2 separate regions of the Homo sapiens genome follow, and region 2 is linked to region 1. Evidence: promoter capture Hi-C in human tissues and cell types (Jung and others, 2019). All regions are on one chromosome and are shown on one strand. The core of a region is centred on a gene start or on the middle of the fragment in contact, and the rest is flanking DNA. Distances in the headings are between cores, read along the strand shown.

What was found. Contacts are between HindIII fragments. The study calls those that stand out against the background at their distance.
Region 2: a fragment that was not itself captured here is called in contact with the fragment with the promoter of SLC12A7 in region 1 in 1 of the 25 tissues and cell types used here (spleen).

The regions. Positions count from the first base shown.
Region 1 is chr5:1,110,449-1,116,197 of GRCh38, reverse strand. SLC12A7 (solute carrier family 12 member 7) reads left to right here and starts at 4,135. Exons shown (of 24, transcript NM_006598.3): 1 at 4,135-4,330. The coding sequence starts at 4,207. The HindIII fragment of the contact is 45,067 bases long and covers 1-5,749 here.
Region 2 is chr5:963,103-969,520 of GRCh38, reverse strand. LOC124900931 (a long non-coding RNA gene) reads left to right here and starts at 5,360. Exons shown (of 2, transcript XR_007058676.1): 1 at 5,360-5,422. RefSeq lists enhancers at 3,684-4,185, 5,772-5,931. The HindIII fragment of the contact is 5,091 bases long and covers 1,870-6,418 here.

The sequences.
Region 1 (5,749 bases), core at 2,886-5,385:
GGGAGATGCAGCCATGGGCCTGGGGCTGTGGCTGGGGTCTTCTGTCATCCCTGCCTACCACAGCTCCCTTCGAGCCCCCACAGGTGGTGGCGGATGTGGGGCTTTAGGGCCACCCTGGCCATGGGCAGAATTCTCGGCCCTGGTGGGACTCCTGGGCAGGGAGAGTGTGGGTCCCACAGGTGGCCGGAGACTCTGCTTCCTCCACTGATGTCCACATACCCCACCCTGCCAGGAGAGGCTCACCACGCTTAAAAAAAAAAAGGTTTGTTTTTTAAAAATCACTTTAGCCTTGGGTAACTGGGGCCTCCCTTCCCTCTCCTCCCTTCCCACCTCTTTCCTTTCCCTCCCCCTTCCCCCGATTCTCCTTCCTCCCCTCTCTCTTCTGCTCTGCCCTATTCGCTCTCTCCCCCACTCACCATGGGTGCTGGGCCAACAGGCAAGAACCTGGGTGGGTGCCCGGCCCTGCCAGGCAGAAGGCGGGTGGCTTTCTGGTGAGAAGGAGTGTGGGGCCTCCAGGGCCGGCCTCCTCCAGGTGTCCCCTTCCCTGGACACGGAGCTCTCCACGGACACTCTGCCTGCCAGCCCCACCTGCATCCTTCAGCCCTGGAGGTGCGCCCTGCCTGATACCCGACAGCAGGTTCCCAGCCCAGAAGGATGCAGATGGCGCACCAGGAGATGAGCCCCCCACCCTAACAGGAAAGCAGAAGTGGACTGGGGGGACCCGCGGACCTGGGGAGAAGCTCCGTGGGCAGAGGCACACAGATACCTGGAGGCAGCCTGCGTCTGGTGAGAGCCCTCCCAGGCCACAGCCCTGATTCCAAGCCGTGGGCACGAGCGGCCTCCTGGCTTGGAAGCTGGCATTGGGTGTCCGTCCTAATCCATTAGAAACTCCACCCCAGGGTGGCAGGCAGCAGGGACTGTTTCGAGAATCTACACACAGAATGTAACCACCATCGGCTACACTTTCGCACTAAATCCCAGGGTTCCCCTGGCTGTGCCCTGCACACGGCCAAGAGGCCATCGCAGATGACCAGGCTCACATCATAAGGATGCGAGATTGCATTTGAAGAGGCCCCCTGGGCAAAGCTGGACACCGATGCTTGGAAAGGGCACTAATGGTGATCGACTGAGACCCACCAATGTGTTTCATCAGCGATGTACAAATATACTTGGGAGATTGTCGGGAACCAATTCACCGTTGTGGAAACTGACAAATGAGGGAGAGGCACCCTTGCCCTGCCTTTCCTGTGGGCACCATTATCCAGATGGCCAGACGGACAAGATGAGCCTCTCCCTCCAGTGAATTCATGACGAAGCCACCACGCACTGGAAAATCACCATTTTGCTCCATGAATCTGTCGATTCAGACATCAAGCACCAACGACTGCGGACGGAGGAGCTACCACCAGACAGTGCGTGGCTCCCTCTGCGAGCCCCCGGCCTTGCCAGGGGACTGGACCCGGATCCCAGCAGTCCCCTGGCTCCAGGTGCCCACTTCCAGGAGACGCAGAGGCCTGCACCGAAAGATGCAGCTCCAACCCAGGCCTCGGGTACCTCCACGTGTCCGAGGGCCACTTCCTACAACAGGTGCCGGGTACAGAAAAGGACAGAGGGATGGAGGTGGGTAGGAAGAGAGCACTGAAAGTCACACAACGCACATTTAACCCCAGGCTGCCGTGTGGGAGGATATACGTGGACACGGAAACCCACAGAGCGAAGGGAGGGGCCACCAGACCCCTAGGGATGGGCTACTGATGGGATGGGAGGGGCCTGCAGCGGCTTCTGGGCTCCGGCAAGGGTCTCTGTCTTGACCCGCAGGTGCTTACAGGGTGCTGATCCCTGTCGTGACTCACCTGATTAGAATGCAAAAGGCAGCAGACCTCACCCCCCACCCGAGGTCTCCCACAAGTAAGATCTAAGATTTAAACAAGAGAAGCCACCTGCCTTCTGCCTGGCAGGGCTGGGCACCCACCCAGGTGCTTCAGCCATGGCCCCTGGTCCTAGTCAAGATTTTGTAATCACAGAGAAGACCACCCTCGGAGCTGCCACAGGACCCTAAACTCCTGGGCCTCAGTTTCCTCCTCTGTAAAATGAAGCTGATGAGTCCTGAGTCCGGGAGCTGGCCCTGGCCACAGACCCTCCAAACCAGCTCCTCTGAAGGTCCACAGCCAGCACATGGCGGGCAGCCGGCCCTGGGGTCCTGGGGTGTGAAGCAGAGCTTGGATGTGCGACGGGAGCCCTGCACATCTGTTGCTCCTGCTGGCATCACTTGGGAAGGCCTCGTGCCCACCCTGAGCTCTGTCCAACCCTCGGGAATAGCGCTGGGTGGCAACCAGGGTTGAATGTACAGAAGCCCCTGCTGGGGTGACTGAGGAGAGGGTTTACCCAGCACCCTAAGTGTGAACCCTATAATTGACCCCATTGGGCACTTCTGTTCCCACCCCCTGGATCTTTTTAGCAAAGCCAGCCCTCCTCATAAGGATGCCTGGGAACTATTTTATCTTCTGGGGAGGTGATGGTTTCCTACCTTCCAACCCACTGACCCAGGGAGGCAGCTGACCTAGCACCATCCACAGCCCTGAGCTCCCTTTGGTGGGAGGTGGGGTGAGAGTGTGGAGCAGGCACAGCTCCAGACACCCAGGCCAGAGGAACCCCCACCTCTGCAAGGGCTGGTGCTGGATGGGCGACGTTCCAGGAGGGTCCCAGGCCTACAGCTTCTGCCCAGAAGAGTCCATGGGGCAAAGGGGTAGAACCCTAGGCCACCCCAGGGCATGACTGGCTTTACTGGAAATGGCTGGAGAGGTTGGGCTTGCGTTCCTTGAACCCACAGAGCCCGGTGATCCCACAGCCCGGAGGCCATCACTCCCCTCCAGCTGCCTTTTAGGATTAGACAGGCAAGCGGCTAAAACATGGCCAGGCCATACCCATTTTCCACGTGACAAGAGGCTGTGGCCGTGTTTGCCCACACCACCTGTGTTTCTGCTTTGTTGTCGTACAGCAGTTGTGGGTGATTAGGAATAAAGGCTGACTCATTGCACCTGTGTGCCATAGCATTTTAGCCCAATTCCCCATTGACGGACATCTGATTGTTCCGTTTTTCATGAGTCATTTGTTGAGAAATGTGCCAGGTGCTGGCCGGTGGTATCCTGGTGTCTGCCTGGTGGGTTCTGGAACTCCACCTTCCCTGCATCACCCTGTGAGCTTCTGGAACATTTCCCAAGGAGGGAAGGGAGGGTTCTAGGGCAGGGGCCGCGGGGCACTCCTGGGGCAGGTGTGGAGGAGACTGGGGTCTTCGTGGGTGGTATTTGTCATGGGTGGGGGGGGGGACTCCCTCTACTGGGTTAGGTCCCTAAACTGGAGCTGGACCAAGCTCCGGAGTACCCCACCCCCAGGCTATCCAAGGCTCCTTCCACTGGAGTTGCCTTTGCAGCCAGGTTGGGCTAGCCAGGAGCCAGGCTAGGAGCCCAGGGTCTGAGCGGGTGTTGACAGCCTGGAGTGGGTGGGCGGACTGTGTGGGAGGTGGGTGCTGGAGGATGGCAGGGGGGAACAGGAGGGGGAAGAAGGAGGGGTAGGGGGCTGGAGCAGGAAATGGGGGGCAAACAGGAGGGGGTGCGGGAGGGGGCGCAGAAGGAGGAGGGGCCCAGCAGGAGGGGGTGCAGAAAGGGCAGGGGTTCCAGCAGGAGGGGGTTCATAGGGGCAGGGGGGCCCAGCAGGAGGGGGTGCAGGAAGGGTGGGGGGGTGCAGGAGGGGTGAGGGGTTCCAGCAGAAGGGCGTGCAGGAGGGGCAGGGGGCTGGAGCAGGAGTGGGGGGTCGGGGAAGGGGACAAGAGGGGAGGCGGGGAGGGGGCCGGGGAGGGCGGGGAGGGCGGGGAGTTCCAGCAGGAGGGGCAGGGGGCTGGAGCAGGAGGGGGTGCAGGAGACTGAGCGGGGATTCGCGGGCTCTGCGATGGTCGGGAGCGCAGGCAGCGAAAGCCCCGCGTCCCGGGTCGCGGCGGTCAGACAGACGCAGCCTGGGTTGGGGTCCCTGCAGGAAGTCGCCGCGGGCCAACTTTTCGTGGGGCCGCGGGGCAAGCAGGTGAAGTCACGTGGCCCGGGCGGGGCGGGGCGGCTCGGTCGGACCCCGCCCCTGCCTCCAAGTCCCGTGGCGTCGGCGGGAGCGGCGCAGCGCGGGCCGGGCCGGGACGGGGACTGTCGGCTGCAGGCGGCCATGCCCACCAACTTCACCGTGGTGCCCGTGGAGGCTCACGCCGACGGCGGCGGGGACGAGACTGCCGAGCGGACGGAGGCTCCGGGCACCCCCGAGGGCCCCGAGCCCGAGCGCCCCAGCCCGGGTGAGCGCGGCCGCACCTGGCCGGACAAAGGCCGAGCGCCCCGAGCGCGGGTCTGGGCCCGGCATCCGGGAGCGGAGGCGGGCGGCGGGGCCGGGGGTACAGGAGGCGCCCCTTCCCGCGCCCCCACCGCCTGTTCTCGGTCCCCCACGAGGGCCCCCACCCCACGTTAGTGGCAGCGCTAGGGGGCGAGGGGCCCTGCCAGGGCTCCCGGTACGGTCAGCTCGGGTGGGACCGGGGGCAGAGGTGTGGACGCCGCTGCTGGTAGCCATGGAAACGGGGAGGGGCTGGAGCGCGCCTCCGGAGGGAGCCCGGGCCCCTGGGTGGTCCCTAGTGGGACAGGGGTGGCGGTGGAGACCCGGGCGGTTCGGGAGCCGGGGCGTCCTGCGTCCCCCGCGCTCTCCCTTCCCCTGCGCCGCGGCCGTCCGGTAACACTAGCCCGGGCCGGCCCGTCCTGCCCCCGCCTGACCCTGGAGGAGCCGCCCACCCCCCAGAGGCGGAACAGGAAGGACTGCGCCCTGGCTGGGGAGGGGGCAGCCACCGGGGCCTTGCTCAGGCCGCGTCCTCCGTGTTCCCGTCCCCCGTTCCGGGAATCTGGAGGTTTCTAGCACTTTCACTTTCTCTAGGGGGTGGGGACGGGGCTGGGGAGAGAATCCCCCAGCCCTGTTCCCTCCATCCTGGCTCCAAATCCCAGTTACTCCCCGGATCTCAGCCCCCTCTAGAAACCGGAGGCTCTTAGGCCCTTCCATCCGGAGTCTCTGAGAAGGTGTCCGGACTCAGTCCAGCCCCCACCCCGCGTGCTGGCAGTGCCCGCATGTGCCCGGGTCTCATGCAGTGGGTGGCAGCCTCCCTGCTCCCTGGCAGTGGAAGGAAGGTGAGGTCTGTCCAGGGACAAGTCCGGTGCCAGACCCCAGATCCTTCCTAACCCACCATCCCGGGCAGGAAAGGCCAGACATCCCCTCCAGGCAGTTTAGGAACCCGGAGACACGGGTGGGGACCCACCGTGAAGGCAGTGGCCTGGTGGCCTGGGGTGCGTCATCAGGGTCCCCGTGGCGGGCGAAGAGTGGTCTCAGCTTCCTCTGCACAGAGGCCAGCCCAGATCTTGGAAGTGGTCAGGCGGGGCGCCAGGCTCAACACCAGGTGAAGTGCTAACTAAGCAGGGTCCGTGAGTCCAAGCCCCTTCTCTCCAGTCACCACCGTGGAGGCAGGAAGCACCAAGGAGTGTGGGCCCTGGCGTGGTCTTTCTGTGTGAGCTTTGTAGCAACGCCCCCGGAACGCACTCAGAAGGAGCCTCTTCTTGTCTGGCCGGCCCCTTCTCAAGGCTGATCAGGTTCACTTTTGTCTTTAGACTGTAAGTGTCATTTGCTTTTAAGCCAGAGAGAATTTTGTGCTTGTTCGTTTTCTTGTCTCTTCTACTCTCAA
Region 2 (6,418 bases), core at 3,166-5,665, 150 kb after region 1:
CGCTTTGCAGTCCATCTGGCACTTTCTTGCTTCCATCTGTGATACATTTCCTCTGCCTGAGTAACTTCATATCGCGTCTCCTTCAGCACAGGATCTTGCCAAAGAGTTTTTTCTGTTTTTTGTTTTCTTTTTTAATCTGGAATGTCTGCTTCACCTTCACTCGTGGAGCCTGTTTGTCTTGGGCAGGGAAGCCTGGCTTGGCAATTGTGTTTTCTTCGCGTCAGGAGGATGGAGGTCCATTCTCTCCTGGATTCCATTATTTTACTGCTCCTTATAAAATGGCATTTCTTTTCTTTGAATGCCTTAGGGATATTTCCCCTGGCCTGTGGTTCCCAGCAGTTCTCCTGTGACTTGTCTACGCTGTTCTCTCTGCTCTTATCTGGCTCAGGGATGGCTACGCTTCCTGGCCCTCTTTCCAGGATGCCACAAACACTTCGCTGCTGCTAGTTGTTTCCAACACGTCTTCCATCTTTTAAATCGTTGGATTTTATTTTAGGGTTTAGGTTTTTCTCTCTGTTCTTCTGTCTGGATATTTTCCACTGCCTCATGGTCTGGCTTCCCAGTCTCCTCTTCAATTGTGTCTAATCCGCTGTGAAGCCTGTCTGTTAGGGTTTGTCTTTCTTTTCTTCTTCTTCTTTTTTTTTTTTTTATAGCCTTATGCAGGAACAACTGGCATACAAAAATGATTATATTGAAAGGCTACAATTTGGTAGGTTTTGAAATATAGATATAAACCCATGAAGCCATTATCATAATCAAGATAATGAGAAAAACCTCTCACCCCACAAACCGGGTGTCGAATTTGAGGCTGACTGCCATTCCCCCACTGTGTGGAAGGGACTTTGCGTCTCTGTCCTGCTTCTGCTCTTGGGAAGCCTCCATCGTTCAAATGCCCCTTTGTAGTTAACGTGGCTTAAAGCAATTGTTTTTTGCTTTAAAGATCTCAGTCTTCTGTGTTTTATGGTTTCATTGCAATGTGTCTGGATGTGAGTTTATCTGTCTTGTTCTATTATTGCCAGCCCGTAACATTTGATTTCCTGTTCCCCTGTGAATCCTGTTAACAACCAGTGGAAGCTTTTCATTCTCTCCTCTGTGTGTCTTCATCTCCCATTTGTCCGCACCTCCTTCACTCTCTGTGTGGACATTGTGGGCTATTTTGTAGGGGAAATCTTTCAGCTATGCTGAATCTGTTGCTTTTCCTATTGAAAATCACAGGGAAACTGCTGAAAACCCACAGAGAAAGGGAACTACCCCCTTCAGCCACTCAAAGAAAAAAAGAAATTTCAATAGCTCTACACTTCATTTTTAGAGGCTTTATTTTATTCTTTTAAAACTCTTCGTATTTTTCATGGTGTCCCATGTTTTCCTTTGATTTTGAACCCTTCTTCTACAGTTGATAACTTTAAAGATGGTCACTATAGATTAACTCTGGGGCTCGTGTCTGGGCACAGGCGGCCTCTGGCAGCTCTCACTCCTGGGGCTGGCTTCCCTGGGTGTTTCGTCACTAGGACTGTAGGATCGTCTTTGGGGGAACTCTGACCGTGGGAATCTCAGGAGGCAGGTGGGGGAGTCCCCCTTCAGAGCAGGTGGCCCTGGTTTAGGCAGTCTTGGCTTGTCACCAGCCTGGGACCGTTTCTGTTTGTTTGTCTTTTTACCTGGTAGTTCTGGCATCACAGAAATAATGTAAATATGGATCCCAGACTGGTTGATGAGCAGGTTCATCTATGGTCAATTTATCTCATTTTATCGACAGGTGGGTATTTTTTCGAAGTCTGTTCTTTCTTTCTTGTAAACTTAGAAGTTTGTTTTAAATGTTTGCTTTTGTTTTGCTTTGCGTCGTTCAGCATTTCTCATTGCCTCTGGGTGTCTCTCCGTTTTTCATGTGTCACAGCGATGTACACACAGGAAAACACCAAGAGGCATAGCCCCTGCTGTAAGTTAGATACGTGTTCATTTACATTTAAATTATTTCTTACAAGGAGGAAGTGTCGTACTCAACATCCATCTTTTGAGTATTTTGAATAATTCCTCCTTCATTCATTCCTTTATTTACCCATCAATAAATAATTATTAATAATTATAGGCTAATTTGCTATTCACATTTCTCTTTGCTCAGCGACACCCCAGCAGCAATGAGCACAGTTAGTGCCCTGACCTTGGTCTCTAAAGCTCATTCTCCAGTAAAAAGAGCAGGGTTCCTTGGAGAAATGATGGATTCCAGGGCTGGGGGAAAAACCGGGGCAGCCTGGGGTTATGCTGGAAAGCGAGAAAGTGCTCCCGAAGGATGGGAGGGTCCCAAGGGCCCGCCTGGAAAAGCCCAGTGGCCAGAGCTGGGTAAATTTTAGCAACTAAGTAAATAATGACAGTGTGGGATGATCATCCAAAGCATAAATATGCACAAGTCCACATGAAGGCACACGAGTGATTGAATAAATCAGTGAGGGGAGGGCGGTCCTTCCTTCAGAGGAATTCCAGCAGAGTAGTGAGGAAACAAATCATCTCAGAACACCACAGTAGTAATTGTTGCAGACAAAACCCACCAACCCATGCTAAAATTAGCAGAAAAGACTTTGAGGAGAAATAGGATACTCTTGTAGTCTCAAAGTATCTTCCCTGAGAGGCCAAGGCAGGTAGATCATCTGAGCTCAGGAGTTTGAGAGAAGCTTGGGCAACACGGTGAAATCCTGTCTCTAAAAAAATACAAAAATTACCTGGGCGCAGTGGCACACACCTGTAGTCCCAGCTACTTGGGAGGCTGAGCGAGTGGATTGCTTGAGCCCGGGAGGTAGAGGTTGCCGTGAGCTAAAATTGCACGACCGCACTCCAGCCTGAGGGACAGAGAGAGACCCCATCTCAAAATAAGTAAATACAAATAAATAAATTACAAATGAAGAATAGTAACGTTACAGTGGGGGAAGCCAGCAGATCCCACCAGAACCAGGTGACCAGGGCCAAAACAACCCATAATGAGGCAAAGCATAGGGCCCGTGAGTCACTACTGCGGACGCTGAGCAGGGTATGGGGCTTCTGCCAGTTTCTTGGCACAGACACATAACTTCGATCCAGACATGATAAAATAGCAAACTCAAACTGAGGGCTGTTCTTCAAAACACCCAGCCAGTGCTCTTCCAAGTGGCAAGGCCATGGGAGGCAAGGAAACACGGGGCCTGCCGTGGGCTGGAGCCTACAGCGAGATGACACCTGCGTGCTCATGGAACTCAGTGTTGTTTCTAAAGCAGGAGGTGGATGTTACCAGAAACTGGAGGAATCTGAATCAAGCTACTGTGTAGTTAATTGCCCCGTGTTAATTCTTAGCCTCAATCCTTGTGGTCAAGGTCGGGTATGCAAGGTGCTGACACGGGAGGAAGCTGCCTGAAGGGGGCGGGGACTCCTGGACGATCTTGGCAACTCTTCCATAAGTCTAACGTTATTTCAGAAAAAAAAGTGTAGTGACATAGCTTAACAAAAAATAAGTGTAAAAAAGCTGAAAAGCAACAGTTAATCCTACGTGAGAGACAACGATGGTTGACTTTCTATACTTGGTGTTTCCCCAAGAAAGAAGCCCCTGGATGCCAGGGTCCCTCCCACTCTACACGTCAGCACGAGGCCGCGGTTCGCTCCCATCATCCGGTTCTAGATGTCAGCACGAGGCCGCGGCTCGCACCTGTCATCTGGGAGTTTCTCCCTCCCCTCCTGCCCACAGGACAACTTCTACTTCTCCTTTGGAATTTCTGAACACAGGAGGCCCTTCTCGGAAGCTCAGCTCTGCCTTCGCCCGCCAGGGCTGTTTCTCCCCTCGAGCCTCTGTCTCCACACCTGTGAAACGGGACGATAAGGGCCCCTTCATGGTGCGGAGGGAGGGCTAAGTTCATAAACGCGTGCAAACGAGGTGAGGACTGGCCGGCACGTAGAGACCCCGTGATGGCTGTCGGCCACCAAACAGACATTCTCCGTGCTCTTCATGCTCTTGCTTATGAGGAGAGATGCTGTGAAGATAAGTTTAAAAACGGCCATGCCATGACAGTTCACAAATAATATTATTCCCTCTGCGAATGCCCTTACCTTCTCTGATGACACTTGTTTCCTATCAACATCGATTTCTGTTGGCTTTCATGCCACCCTCTCTGAATGAGAATTGGGAAGACTCCAATGGCTGTTTTTAACCCCATATTTTTCTGTTCTGTAAACTTCTGTTCATTGCCAGGCTTTGTATCTTCCTTCTTTTAAAAGCGAAAGTGTCCTTTCTCTTCTTGTTTGGAACCTAGAATTGTGTATCGATGCATTTTTGGTGATTTCCCAATAACTAGCTGTGATCCTGCTCCACAGAGCCCTAATGCTTGAGCTCAAACTGTCCGAACCCACACTGCACTCCTTGGAGAAAATGAATGCAGCCTGAATTCTGCTGCTGAGAGTGCCTGGCCGTCCTGGTGGTCACTGACTCACTGGGGTCTGGCCGTCCTGGCAGCTCCTCAGGTCACCGGACTCTGGGGAGGCACCGTGCTGGTTCTGCCTGTGCCTGGTGGGACCCCCTGGTTCCCGGCACTGTCTGGGCCTCGTTCTGAGAGATGACTCCTTCTCACCATTGGTCACCAGACCTGGGCCCTCGGCCACTCGTGGCGTGGCTGAGATTTCAGGTCTCAGAGGACTGTCACCCCCTTCCTCCTATTCAATTTCTGCATGAAGTCTCTAAATCAATAACAGAGAAGGGGAGAGGAAAAAGGAAAGAAAAACTCCCACCTAATGGCCATTTTCAGAGCAGCCGCAGAACCATGTGACACAGCTGACCGAGGCAGCATTGCAGATACATTTGTGTGCCTGCAGATCTCAGGTACACGGACCCGTCTCCATGCTCAGGGGGCCTCTAAAGGGGGTGCAGGCTTTGGGGGCAGAGCAGAGGGGTGTAGGACTCTGGGGAGGCCACGACCACTGAGGGAAGGACCTTGCTATCTCACAAGGCCGAATCCTCCCCAAGGTGGCTGCCGTCTCCCTGGACCCTGCGTTCTGCACCCCCGGGAGGTAGGGAGTTGGATCTCGTACCAACGATGAATGCGTGGACACGTGTGGATGCCGTCCGCTTCCCAGAGTCCCCAGCCGGGCTCCCCAGGGCTCTGCGGGACCCTCTTCCATGCACCTGTGCTGTTTGCTCTCAGGTGGCTGCAAGCAAGTCCCTTTTCTCAGCCAGGCAGGAGGGAGTGGAGGAAGGGCCTGTGTGTCTCCTCAGTTTCAAAGAAACTCCCACGGCAGAGCGTGCTCTTGAACTAAAGCTTGAATGAATCAGAAACATCTGGGCTGTTTTTTCTGTGCTTAAGATACAGGAAACAGACCCATCCAAAGCCGTTTGGGGTTTTATCAAGGGGTCATTTAAGATGCAGAGCAACTTGAAATCGCCCATCTGTTGGAGAGCCGTGCGTGCTGACAGAGGGTAAGAAACTACAGCCCGCGCAGCTGCGGTCTTCATGTGGTCGCTGCACGCAAGGGTTTGCCGTTATCTGTTGCTTCTGAAGGCAAGGGTGAGGGGAGCGGAACTGGGTGTTGCCTGGTTCTGCCGTCAGACCAGGCACTGGGGAGGGAGTCCTGTGGGGAGGTGGGGCCAGGCCTTGTCTCTGTGACAGTGAACGTCCCTGTCCATGTTGGTGTTTCTCAGACAAGCCACCTCCTTCCACCCCCACGGTGGTGCAAGGGGAGGCTTTAGTCCAGGATAACAAATTCTGAACCAGCTGCTGCGTCTGGAGCCCCTGAGGGCTTATGCACTGGTGACCAGGGAGTTTCCTGGCTTATCACATCCGAGGCCGACTTTCGGGCTACAGAGGGGCGTGTGAGCCCCTGGAGTAGACAGAGGAACTGCTTCTCTGCCAGGCGCTGTGTTGAGATGAGAGGGAGGGCAGGTCCTTCGGCTTCTGAAACATGAAACAACCCCACACCTAGGGCAGGGCGTGCAATGCCACCATGGCCTGGAAGACCCAAGAGTGATGAGTGCTGAGCACAGGCCAGGCCCGGGGCTGTCACGGGCAGAGCCACTGGCCCGGCGTGCAGGTGGGAAGGAGGTCTCGGTAACTAAGCATTCGCATGATTCTGTCCTCTGAGGACTGGGGCAGGTGCTTCCTCTACCTCCCAGCAGCCTCCCTAATTCCAGAAGAATAAGAACAGGGGAGAGGAAGCCAGTGCAAGGGCTCCCACCTGCTCCCTCCAAGCCAGAGGTGCTGCCTCGGTTCTTCACTTCCAGCCAGGCCATGCCTAGCAGGCCTTCGTCCAGTCCACGCGTGGCAGCGCTTGGCCTGCCTCAGGCCTGTGTCCTCAGGCATTGTTCCCTCCTGTGTCTGCCCTTGTCTGGGGAGTATTTTCTGTCCTCGCTTCAAGTCCCTGAGAGTCTGCCTGGCACCCTGACCCATTCTGCCAGCCCAGCCAGTCCATACCAGGG